2 separate regions of the Homo sapiens genome follow, and region 1 is linked to region 2. Evidence: promoter capture Hi-C in 16 types of primary human blood cells and fetal thymus (Javierre and others, 2016). All regions are on one chromosome and are shown on one strand. Each heading gives the region's core, a stretch centred on a gene start or on the middle of the fragment in contact. The rest is flanking DNA. Distances are from core to core; before and after follow the strand shown.

Region 1 (6,568 bases), core at 1,219-3,718, 390 kb before region 2:
ACTGCTCCTCTCTGGCTGGGCTGAGCCAGAGGCTCATTCCCACCCGGGCAGGGTTGGGGGGCTGCTCCTCTGACTGTCCCACCCAGAGGGAGATCAGCCCTGATGCACCACCCCTGCAGGCCCCGGGGGCTCAGGCTGCCTCGCCCAGCACCCACCCTGGAGGCCTCAGATGCCTGGGCGGGGGCTGGCAGGAGGGTGCCAGGGAAGGGCCCCCAAGCTGATGTCCCCGGCCGATGGCTCTCAAGCTTCTACCCTCCCACGAAAGGATGGTTCAGAATTTAGTGAAAACTGAGAATCCACGTCCTGCTGGGAGGGGCCCTGGCAGGCTGGCTCCAGCTCACAGGGTTCAGGAAGAAGCCCCTGGGGGCAGGGAGGTCACCAGGCCACACCCTGGTGGTAGGATGTGCCTTAGGTCCCCAGAGCCAAGAGGCACTATGGCCTTGCTCCCGGCACCCGACCCCACCTGCCGTGGACCCGTGCGCCTGTGCGCAGCTCAGGAAGCCACCGGTAGCTCCACTGAGACCAGCCTCCTCTCCCGGGGCGTCTCAGCTGTCCCCGGGGCCACGTCCCCCCCTCACTTGGGTCTCCACAGCAGCGCCGGCCGAGCTGGTTTGCAGACTCTGCCTCTGGAGAATCGTGGGCGGTGGCTCCTGTTTGCCTACGTGTGTGCTGCATGGACAGAGCTGCAAGGCCCCGGGCGAACATGCAGGCAGACGGACGTGGATACACAGAGGCTTGGAAATGCCTCTTCAGCCCTGCTAAGAGCTGGCCCTGGGGCTTTGCTCCCCTTCCCTGGAAGCAGAGCGTGGGGCTGCTCAGCTGGGCAGAAGCCCGTCCGTCCAGAGGCTCAGCAACGCCAGGGCAGGGCCCCTGCTGACCCCAGGCCAGTCCCACCATCCTCCTGGGCGATAAAGGGTCGGTGCTGAGTGACCTTAAGTTCTGAGAAAGGGGCCTGGCAGCAGCTCTCGACCAAACTCTGCCAAAGCCTCAGGCCGGCCATGGGCGAGGCTGCCCCTCATGTCCCCGCGGCTGGGTAGAACTGGGCGTGAGGCCTTGGTCTGGTCGCCAACCTTTTCCCTACAAACAAGTCCTCATTGTGCCCCTTGAGCTGTTCTGACCACCGTGACCTCTGAATGGGGTCGTAGGTCAGAGTTCAGAGTTCACTCACCACTGCCCTTGGAGCAGCTCTGACTCTGTACCCCACAGGGGTGTGGGCGCATTCGCCGCCATCTGCTCAGACCACACAGGCTTTCAGAACGTCAGCCTCATCCCAGATGTGGGGCAGGCAGGGCCCTGGTGAGGCTGAGTGCACAGACAGGGCGGCCGGGCCCAAAGGTGAAAGGGGCGGGGATCACGCCTGGGCCTGTGTCCCGTGAGGGTCGGGCCCTGCAAGTGGGCTGCCCCTCTGCTGCTCGGCCTGCCCCATCACGGCGCGGGAGTCAGGACTGTGGTGGGTCCCTTGGGCTGGGCCTGGATCTCCCTTTCCCAGTTCTTGCAGGGGCCCTGGGGCCAGGTGGGGCAGGAGCCGGCGGTAGCAGGAGCCTGTAGGGCTTGGGTGTGGGTGCTGGCCTTGGTATCAGGTGCCTAACCCAGCACCGGGCCACTGGGGAAGGTGGCCTCAGCCACACGGGGCCACGTTGGCCCCTCTGCCAGCCTCGCAGGCGCTAAGTCAACATCGGGGTTCCTGGAGGGAAGGGAGGGCCTGTTTGCCGCTGACACTTGGCAGGGAACTGGACAACGTGCGCCCCACTCCTGTTTGCTCTGACTCGAGTTGTCTTAATCCTGAGCAAATGCGGCCAAGGGGCCTGCCTCGGCCTTGTCCTCTGTCCACACTCTGCCCGCATCCTCACCTGCCCGCCACACTGAGGTCACGCCTGCCCGCCACACTGAGGTCACGCCTGCCCGCCACACTGAGGTCACGTCTGCCCGCCACACTGAGGTCACGCCTGCCCGCCACACTGAGGTCATGCCTGCCCGCCACTGTGAGGCACCCCAAGACTCTGGCCCTGCATGGGGGTGCTGCTTCCCCAGGAGACTCTCAGGGCTGGGGAGCCACTAAGCATCCACGGTGCCAGGGCCAGGACAGCCCCGACACCGGCCTCAGCACCTGGCCATGGCACGCCAGCCCCTTGCATCCCTGTTGCCTGCTCAGGCTGTCTCTGCCATGTCCCCCTCCTCCTCCTTCCACACGTGTCCCCTCCACTTCTCCCTTTTCCCTTTTGTCCCCCTTCACTACTGCACCCCTGCATCCAGGCCCCACTGGGCTACTGCAGGGGATGCATTCTGGTGGCATCATGCCTCTGGGGAAAGTCCTCCTTCGCTGTGGTTCTGAACTTGCAGGTAAGTTGAATGAGTGGAACAGAGACCTCCTCCATGCCCTTCCTCAGGCTCTGGGGCTTGTGTTTTGTTCCAGGGACTTGTGCTATTTGCTGTCTGTAGCTACATATTTTTCTGAACCTCTGGTGTTTGAGAAGCATGTCCCTTCACCCTTATATACGCAGACGTGTCGCCTAGAAACAGCAGGGGTCACACCCAGACGGGTCGGTGACGTGACATCACAGCCCAGAGGCAGACCCCTCTGCTGTCCTGCCCGCGTCCATCACAGCTTTCATCTTTCCCACCCCAGGGTTTGGCGTAGGACCACCTGTCCCACCACTGCCAGCTCTTCAGTCTCCTTGTATCTGGAATCTGTCCTCAGCTTTTCTGTTTCTTGACCGTGGTCTTTTGAGGAGAGTAGGCTGGTTATGTTGCGTGGCACCCCTAAGTCTGTCTGAGGTTTGCTTGTGCTCCAGCTGGGCTGTACCCTGGCAGGGTCACCACGGGGAAGCTGTGCGTGTCTCCAGAGGATGTGATGTCGATTGGACCCAGCACTGGGACGCCAGCCTTCATCACTTGGTTCAGGGGTGTCTGCCGGTTTTCTCCACTGGAAAGTTGTTGGGAACAGGCCCCCCAAAATCTGCCCATAAACTGGCCCCAAAACTGGCCATAAACAAAATCTCTGCAGCACTGTGACATGTTCATGATGGCCATGACGCCTACGCTGAAGGTTGTGGGTTTACTGGAATGAGGGCAAGGAACACCTGGCCCACCCAGGGTGGAAAACCGCTTAAAGGCGTTCCTAAGCCACAAACAATAGCATGAGTGATCTGAGCCTTAAGGACATGCTCCTGCTGCAGATAACTAGCCAAACCCATCGCTTTATTTCAGCCCATCCTTTCATTTCCCATAAGGAATACTTTTAGTTAATCTATAATCTATAGAAACAATGCTTATCACTGGCTTGCTGTTAATACATACGTGGGTAAATCTGTGTTCGAGGCTCTCAGCTCTGGAGGCTGTGAGACCCCTGATTTCCCACTCCACATCTCTATATTTCTGTGTGTGTCTTTAATTCCTCTAGTGCCACTGGGTTAGGATCTCCCCGACCAAGTTGGTCTCAGCAGAAAGTTGCCATCTCCTCCCCTGGAGCTAAGGAGTCTCTTGTGGGAGGTGCTTCAGGACCACATAATTATTCTATTCCTCCCTAGCTGCTGTGTGTTAACTAGTGTCAATATCCATTAATGAGTCTAATTCCTCCCACTTTTCTTAGTCTTTCTCTCTAAAAACTGGGAGAGCTCCCGGCATTCAAGGAAATCTCTGTCAAAACATCAGTTGAACATGAGCTAAAGGAACACAGACTTCATGATCACACATGACAAGAAATAGTCTTTGGCAGCCAGGTGTGGTGGCTCACGCCTGTAGTCCCAGCACTGTGGGATGCCGAGGAGGGCAGATCACCTGAGGTCAGGAGCTCAAGACCAGCCTGACCAATATAGCAAAACCAGTCTCTACTAAAAATACAAAAAATTAGTCAGGTGTAGTGGTGGGTGCCTGTAATCCCAGATACTTGGAAGGCTGAGGCAGGAGAATTGCTTGAACCCAGGAGGCAGAGGTTGCAGTGAGCGTGCCATTGCACTCCAGCCTGGGCAACAGAACAAGACTCTGTCAAGAAAAAAAAAACACACCAAGAAACAGCCTTTGCAAAGTTCACTTAAAAACATCTCGAATGGATCACTGTAGCCTTCAATAATAAAAAAGAAGAGAAAAACCCAGCCAACACTAGAAAAAGGGGGAAATCTGATTTCCAGAGTTACCACATTATAATAGTTAAATCCCCAATTTTCAACAAAAAAATCACAAGACTTACAAAGAAACAATATAGCCCATCCAGAGGAACAAAATAAACTGGGAGAAGTTATCCCTGAGTAAATTCAGACATCAGTCTTACTAGCCAGTGATTTTAAAGCAACTGTCTTAAGTTGCTCAAAGAACTAAAGCAAAAGACGGACAAAGAACCAAAGGAGGTCAGTAAGACAATGCACGTACAAAATGAGAATACCCACAAAGAGACAGAAATCTTTTTAAAAAGAACCAAACAGATATTCTGTACTTGGAAATTATAATAACTGAAATGAAAAAAAATCACTAGAGGGGTTCAACAGCATATTTGAGCAGTTATAAGAAAGGCTCAGCCAAACTTGAAGACAAGGCAATTGAAATGATCAAGTCTGAGGAGCAGAAAGAAAAAAAGATTGAAGAAAAGTGAATAGAATCTGAGGTGCTTGTTGACCACCAAGTGGGTCTTACAGGAGGAGAGAAAGGGAGAAATTATTCAAAGAAACTCAAAAAAATTCAAAGGAACAAAAATGGCCAAAAGCTTTCTAAAATTGATGAAAAACATGAATCTACAAATCCAGGGAGTTCAAGAAACTCCAAGTAGGATAAACTCAAAGAGATCCACACTGAGACACATTATAATCAAACAGTTGAAGGATAAAAGCAAAGAAAGAATCTCAAAAGCAAGAAGAGACGTGACTTGTCGTATTTAAGGGATCTTCAGTAAGATTGGCAGCATATTTACCATCAGAAACCTTAAAGGCCAGCAAGGTAGTGGATGATAACATTTAAAGTGCTGAAATTAAAAAACAACAACACTGTCAACCAAGAATTCTATATCTGGCAAAACTGTCCTTCAAAACTTAGGGTGAAATTAGGACATTACCAGATAAACAAAAGGTAAGGGATTTGTTGCCACTAGCCAAGCCCTGCAAGAAATGCTACACAAAGTCCTTCAGGCTGAAATAAAAGGACACTAGACAGTAACTCAAAGCTGTAAAAAGAAATAGATCTTCACTGAAACTACATACATGGCCAAATATAAAAATCCAGTATTACTGTAAATTTGATTTTAATCCACTTCTTCTTTTCTACAGGATATAAAAGGCAAATGCATAAAAATAACTATAAATCTATGTTATTGAATACACAAGGTATAAAGATGTAATTTGTGACATCAATGAAATAAAGGGAGGGGGTGGAGCTGTGTAGAAGGAGGGTTTTGTGTGCAATTAAAGTTATGTTGGTATCAATTCAAACTAGACTGTTATAACTTTAGGATGTTATATGTCATCCCGAGGGTAACCACAAAGAAAATGCTATAGAATATACACAAAAAGAAATGAGAAGGGAATAAAAATTTGTCACTTCAAAAAATCAACTGAAGACAAAAGAAGGCAGTGATGGAGACAATGAGGAACAAAAAATTAGAAGACATACAAAAAAATAGTAAAATGGCAGTGGTAAGTACATCCTTATTAGTAATTACTTTAAATGCAAATAGACTTAGACTCTCCATTTAAAATGCAGAGACTGGTTAAAATCAATTTTTAAAAAACCATGATTGGCTGGGCATGGTGGCTCACGCCTGTAATTCCAGCACTTTGGGAGGCCAAGGCAGGCGGATCATGAGGTCAGGAGATTGAGACCATCCTGGCTAACATGGTGAAACCCCATCTCTACTAAAAATACAAAAAATTAGCCGGGCATGGTGGTGGGTGCCTGTAGTCCCAGCTACTTGGGAGGCTGAGGCAGGAGAATGGCGTAAACGTGGGAGGCAGAGATTGTAGTGAACCAAGATTATGCCACTGCACTCCAGCCTGGGCAACAGAGTGAGACTCTGTCTCAAAAAAAAAAAAAAGTCAATTCAACAAGAAGATATAACAACTATAAATATATATGAACCAAACAACAGAGCCTCCAGGTATATGAAGCAAACATTGTCAGAATGAAGGGAGAAATAAATAGTTCTATAACAATAGCTGAAGACTTCAGTACCACACTTTCAATAATCAATACAACAACCAGACAGATCAATAAGGAAACAGAGGACTTGAACAACACTATAGACCAATTAGACATAATGTACATGCACAGAACACTTCACCTACCAACAGCAGAAGACACATTTTTTTCCAAGTGCACATGAAATATTCTCCAGGAGAAACTATATGATAGGATCCAAAACAAGTCTTAATAAACTTTCAAAGATTGAAATCACACAAAGTATTCTACAAAGGAATGAAGCTAAAAATCAATAATAAAAGAAAAACTAAAATGTACAAATATGAGGAAATTGAATATCACACCTTTAAATAACAAACAGGTCAAAGAAGAAATCACCAAAGATATTAGGCATTCTTAAAGCTTGAATGAAAACAAAACCACAATGTATCCAAACTTATAAGACACA
Region 2 (5,867 bases), core at 176-2,675:
AGCTGGAAGCCATGGGTCTTGTGCAAGGCCCTGCTTGGCTGGTCGTCAGGACTCAGGGCCCGCCTGCCCCTCTGCGCCTCTAGGGCGGGCATTGAATGCCGAATCCTCCCCGGGCTGAGCCCTCTTCTCCTGCAAGCAGAGACTGTGAAGATATTTGAGGCCGAGAGGAGGACAGAAGGGAATGGCAGGCTTTTTTGTGAATGTACCAGGCCTGCTGGCAGGCGTTTCCCAGCTTAGCTGACAGATCAGAACACAGAATCGGTCACCGCACAGGAAAGGGGTTGGACAGAATTGCACCAAGTATACAGTTGATTTACAGACATGAGAGGCTTTATTGCAAGGAAATTCATTCATTATTTTGTTATTTTTTTTTAAACAGATGGAGACAACAGGAAGGAAAGAGACCTTCCTGGTCACACTTGGGCCACAGGAGAACAGGCAGCGGCCCAGGAGGATCCAGGGTCCTGATGGTGGTTGAGAAGCTGGTTCTTAGTGATCACTCAGAAACGTCGGCCTGGCCTTGTGGGGTCAGACCTTGCATCTCAGTCAGCCCAGGGAGAAGAAGAAGATGGTCCACACCCAAGTGCAGGGAACATCGTGGCAGTCGGCTGGGTGCCTGCGTCCAGGCGAGGACACCTCCCGCATCAGGGAAACACACGTTTCTGGAGTGAGGAGGCTGAAGGCAGGGCCCAGAGGAGAGCTGAGCCATGGAAGGAGGTGTGTGCATGGATGGTGAGCTAGAGCAGGTGCAGGTGCCTCAGGGAGGATGTGTGGGACGAACTGACTCAGGGAACCATAAGAAATGCTTTCACCAAACAGGAGAAACCTGAAGGTCTGGGTCCAGAGCCTCAGATCTTACACTGGCAGCACACAGGGACACAACAGTTGGACTGGCAGCAACAGGGCTTGCAGCAGCTGGACTGGCAGCACACGGGGACACAGCAGCTGGACTGGCAGCAGCAGGGCTTGCAGCAGCTGGACTGGCAGCAGGATGATCCACAGCCTGAGGAGCAGCAACAGGGCTTACAACAGCTGGACTGGGAGCAGCCACAAGAACCACAGCCCCCCTTGGAACCCCCACAGGAGCCACAGCCCCCCTTGGAGCCCCCACAGGAGCCACAGCCCCCCTTGGAGCCCCCACAGGAGCCACAGCTGGTGCAGGAACAGGCTGGCACCCAGGAGCACACGGGCTTGCAGCAGCAGACAGGCACATAACATCTGGAGCCACATCCCCCACAGCTGGAGCTGCAGCCCCCACAGCCAGAGCCACAGCCCCCACGGCCGGAGCCACAGCCCCCACAGCCAGAGCCACAACCCCCACAGCTGGAGCCACAGCCCCCACAGCCGGAGCCACAGCCTCTGGAGCAGCCACAGCAGCCCATGGTTCTGGTGGATTGAGGGTGGAGCAGGTAGAGGAGCAGGTGAGAGGGAGGTGCAGGTGTGGAGCTCCCTGAGCCTGGGCTCTTTATATACCTGTCCAGATGTCAGGCATGACACAGGGTCCCTTTCTTGTGACTGTTTACACTATTTTTCCAGAGCTCTATTTTTTTCCTCTTTGCTAGTGACTTCCTTCTGGCTCAGTTGAGCATCTACTTTCTTTGTTTTCTAAATTTGTCTTTTTCCCCATTTGTTTTGGCCCCTACAATTAAAACCTCAGCTCCAGGCTGTCTGGTTCTTCCTGCAAAGCTCCAGGGTGCTGGTCACCTGCTCTCTGCTGACCACATGTGACCAATGGGCAACAGCCTCTGCCCACGTGCTCTCATCTTTCCTGTGTTGACTCCCTCAATAATATTAATTTTACATTTTTAGATTTCAAAATTATCCACGATCTTTATACTCATGCCAGTCTCAGCTTTCCGGGTGTGTTAGACCATTCTTTGCATTGCTCTAAAGAAATACTTGAGGCTGGGTAATTTATAAAGGAAAGAGGTTAGAATGGCTCATGGTTCTGCAGGCTGCACAAGCATGGCACCCACCTCTGCTCAGCTTCTGGGGAGGCCCTCAGGGAGTTTTCCTCACGGTGGAAGGCGAAGCAGGAACAGGCACACCACATGGTGAGAGTGGGAGCAAGGGGTGAGGAGGAGCCACACACTTGTGAACAACCAGATCTGAGTGAACACACTCATCGCCAAGGGGGTGGCACTAAGTCACTCATGAGGGATCCACCCCCATGACCCAGACACCTCCCTGCAGGCCCCTCCTTCAACACTGGCCAACAACTATATGAAAAAATGCTCCACATCACTAACTATTCGGGGAATGTAAATCGAAACCACCACGAGATACCATCTCATATCAGTCAGAATGGCTTTTGATAAAAAGTAAAAAACAAAACAAAACAAAAAAACCTAAAATCAGATGCTGGCAAAGCTTGAGAGAGAAGGGAACACTTGTACACTGTCGGTGGGAATGTAAATGAATTCAGCCACCACGGAGAGCAGTTTGGAGATTTCTCAAAGAGCTAAGAATTGAACTACTATTTGACCCAGCAATCTCATGATTGGGTATATACCCAAAGGAAAATAAATCAATCTACCAAAAAGACACATGCATCCATATGTTAATTGCAGTGCTATTCACAAAAGCAAAGATGTGGAATCAACCCAGGTGCCCATCAATGGTGGATTGGATAAAGAAAATGTGGTACATATACACCATGGAATACTACACAGCTGCAAAAAAGAACGAAGTCATATCTTTTGCAGCAGTATGGATGAAGCTGGAGGCCGTTATCCTAAGGGAACTAATGCAGAAGCAGAAAACCAAATACCACATATTCTCACTTATAAGTGAGAGCTAAACTTTGAGTCCACATGGACATAAAGATGAAAACCATAGACACTGGGGAACAAGAGGAGGGAGGAAGGGAGGGAGGGGGCAAAGGCTGAATACTGGGGAACAAGAGGAGAGAGCAAGGGGGCAAGGACTGAAAAACTACTGGGTACCACAGTCACTATTTTGGTGATGGATTCATTCATACTCCAAACCTCAGCATCACACAATATACCCATGTGAAAAACCTGCACATGTACTGCCTGATTCTAAAATAAAAGTTGAAGAAAAAGTTCTTTATATACTCTAGATACTAGATGCTTATCAGATATCTGATTTGTAAATCTTTTCTTCCTTTATTATGTAGACTGTTCTTTCACTTTGTTGATAGCGTCCTTTGGTGCAAAAATATTTAACTTTTGATGGCATCCAATGTATTTGTATTTCTCTTTTGTTGCTGGTGCTTTTGGTGTCCTATCTATGAATCCACACCGAATCCAAGGTCATGTTTTCTTTTAATAGTTTTATAGATTTGACTCTTAAATGTAGGCCTTTTGACCCATTTTAAATTAATTAGTGTATGTGGTGTGAAGTAGGGGTCCAGCTCATTCCTGTGCATGTGGATGTCTAGTTTCCCAGCATCATTTGTTGAAGTACTGCTCTTCCTCCATTGAATGATCTGGCACCCTGTCAAAAATCAGTTGGTCATCTACATGAGGGTTTATTTCTGGCTCTCAATTCTATTCCACTGGTTTATACATTTATTCTAACAACAGTGCTAAACTGCCCTGATGACTGCAGCTTTGTAGTAAGTTTTCAAATTGGCAAGTGTGAGCCCTCCAACATTGTTCTTCTTTTTAACCTTGTTTTAGCTATTCCGGGTCCCTTGAGATTCCACATGAACTTTAAAATCAGCCTGTGAATTTCTACAAAGAAGCCAGCTGCTTTCCTGATAGAGATTGCATAGACTCTGTAGATCAATTTTGGGGGTATTGCCATCTGAAAAATGTTAAGTCTCCTGATACATGAACATCAGTCTGCTTTTGGGCTGCCATAACAAAATACCACGGATTTGGTGGCCCAACAACAGGCATTTATTTTCTCACAATTCAGAAGTCCAAGATCGGGTGCAAGCAACTTTTGTTTCTGGTGAGGGCTCTCTCCTTTGGTTGCAGATGGCCGCTTTCCCACTCTTTGCTCACATGGCCTTTCCTTTGTGTGTGGAGAGAGAAAGAGTTGGAGGGAGGAAGAGAGAGAGAGAGAGAGAGAGAGAAAGAGAGAGCGAGACAGAGGCAAATGCTCCCTGGTGTCTCTTCTTATGAAGATGCAAATCCTGTGGAAGCCCTTATGACCTTACGTAACCTTAATTTCTTCCTTGGAGAACTCGTCTCCATATACAACCACAATGGGAGTGATGGATTCAACATATGAATTTGAAAGAACATGAATATTCAGTCCACAACAAATCTGGGATGTTTTAGATCTTCTTTAGTTTCTTTCAACAGTGTTTTGTCACTTTCAGAGTTGCAAGTGAGTAGAAATACAATTGATTTTTATATATTGGTCCTGTATTCTGAAAACTTGCTGGATTCATTTATTAGTTCTATAATCTATAAAACACTGGCCGAGCACGATGGCTCATGCCTATAATCCCAGCAATTTGGGAGCCCAAGGCAGGTGGATCACATGAGGCCAAGAGTTCAAGACCAGCCAGGCCAACATGGTGAAACCTCATCTCTACTAAAAATATAAAAACTAGCTGGGCACGGTGGTGCATGCCTGTAATCACAGCTACTTGGGAGGCTGAGGTGGAAGAATTGCTTGAACCAAGGAGGCAGAGGTTGTAGTAAGCTGACATTGTGCCACTGCACTCCAACAACCGAGCGAGACCCTGTCTCAAAAAAAAAATCTATAAAACATTAGTAGCTCTTACAAATTGACAAGTAGAATACAAACAACCAAGTTTTTAAAAAGATGATTCTCTGATAAACAAATGGAAGTGTGCAATTAAAAATATAAAAAGTAAATCAGACTCACTGGTAGTCAGATACACGGGATCTTTTCTGTGGAGTCCTAATGATGGAAAAGGAGCCAGGTTGGTTGGACCAAGGGAAAGCAAAAAGAGAAGGCAGATGAACTACAAGTCTGCCTTTCTTCCTGGTGCAGGACTTAGCCCTCCTATGCAAATAACTCACATAACTCACAATCTTCCTGCACTCAACTTATGACCTCAGTTGATAGAAAAATGCAAATTAGCTCACTGAAACCTTGGCATTATCAGCACTGCATGTAACCCTCTCCGGCACAAGCACCATCCTATAAAATCCCCAGCAAGCCTTTGTCTCCTGGCAGCCAGCTCCTCCCTTGCTGACCTGCCCTTTCCATTCTTGCAACGTATTTTCCTACATTCTCTAATAAATCTGCCTTTCCTTACCTACAACTGTCTTGGTAAATTCCTTTTCTGCCCACGCTAGTGGACTCAGTTAGTGGCTACCTGCAACATTTTATATCTACTAGACTGACCAAAATTAACAAGAATAATAACACCTATTGCTAGTGAAATTGGGGGAAAAGGTACTCATACATTGTTCTGGGGATACAATTTATTACAGTTTTTTTGAAAACAATATCTAATAAAATTAGGTCATATCAATACAATTAGTCTTGAAATTACTGAAAAAAGATTAAACGTAAACATATTCGTGTATACATATATGTGTATGATCTATTATTTACAGTGTCAGAAAAAGAATCCTAGCAAATTGAAAATTAATACTAAAAGTCATACCCACTAAAAAATAAGATTACACCTGTACCAGTGGACTTGGAGAAATTTCCTCAAGGCTCTGGCTAGTGTGAAATGTAGATGCAGAGAAATGAGCCCTGTAGGATCCTATTTTAGTAGCAAGCAATAAAAATATCTTTTACACATATGTTGAGTGTGTGCCTGGGGTACGTAGGACAGTGGCTGGGTGGAGTGGGGAAGGTGTGTAGGAATCAACAAAAAGCAAATGACAGTGAAAAGTGAGTCCAGTATGTGTGATCCTACTTGTGGAAAAACTCCACATATATGAATACGCATGCGCGTAAAGAAA

The links. The method cuts DNA at HindIII sites, captures the fragments that hold promoters and counts their contacts. A CHiCAGO score of 5 or more calls a contact.
Region 1: a contact is called between a fragment that was not itself captured here and the fragment with the promoter of KRTAP5-2 in region 2, in 2 of 17 cell types (naive B cells and total B cells). The highest score is 6.7, in naive B cells.

The regions. Positions count from the first base shown.
Region 1 is chr11:1,207,075-1,213,642 of GRCh38, forward strand. No RefSeq gene overlaps it. Among named protein-coding and RNA genes, the nearest start is that of MUC5B, 13 kb to the right of the region's middle. The HindIII fragment of the contact is 4,451 bases long and covers 244-4,694 here.
Region 2 is chr11:1,596,869-1,602,735 of GRCh38, forward strand. KRTAP5-2 (keratin associated protein 5-2) reads right to left here and starts at 1,426. Exons shown (of 1, transcript NM_001004325.2): 1 at 309-1,426. The coding sequence starts at 1,382. The coding sequence ends at 849. It overlaps KRTAP5-AS1 (KRTAP5-1/KRTAP5-2 antisense RNA 1), which reads left to right. Exons shown (of 2, transcript NR_021489.2): 2 at 380-2,316. RefSeq lists enhancers at 1-54, 629-1,202. The HindIII fragment of the contact is 10,330 bases long and covers 1-2,368 here.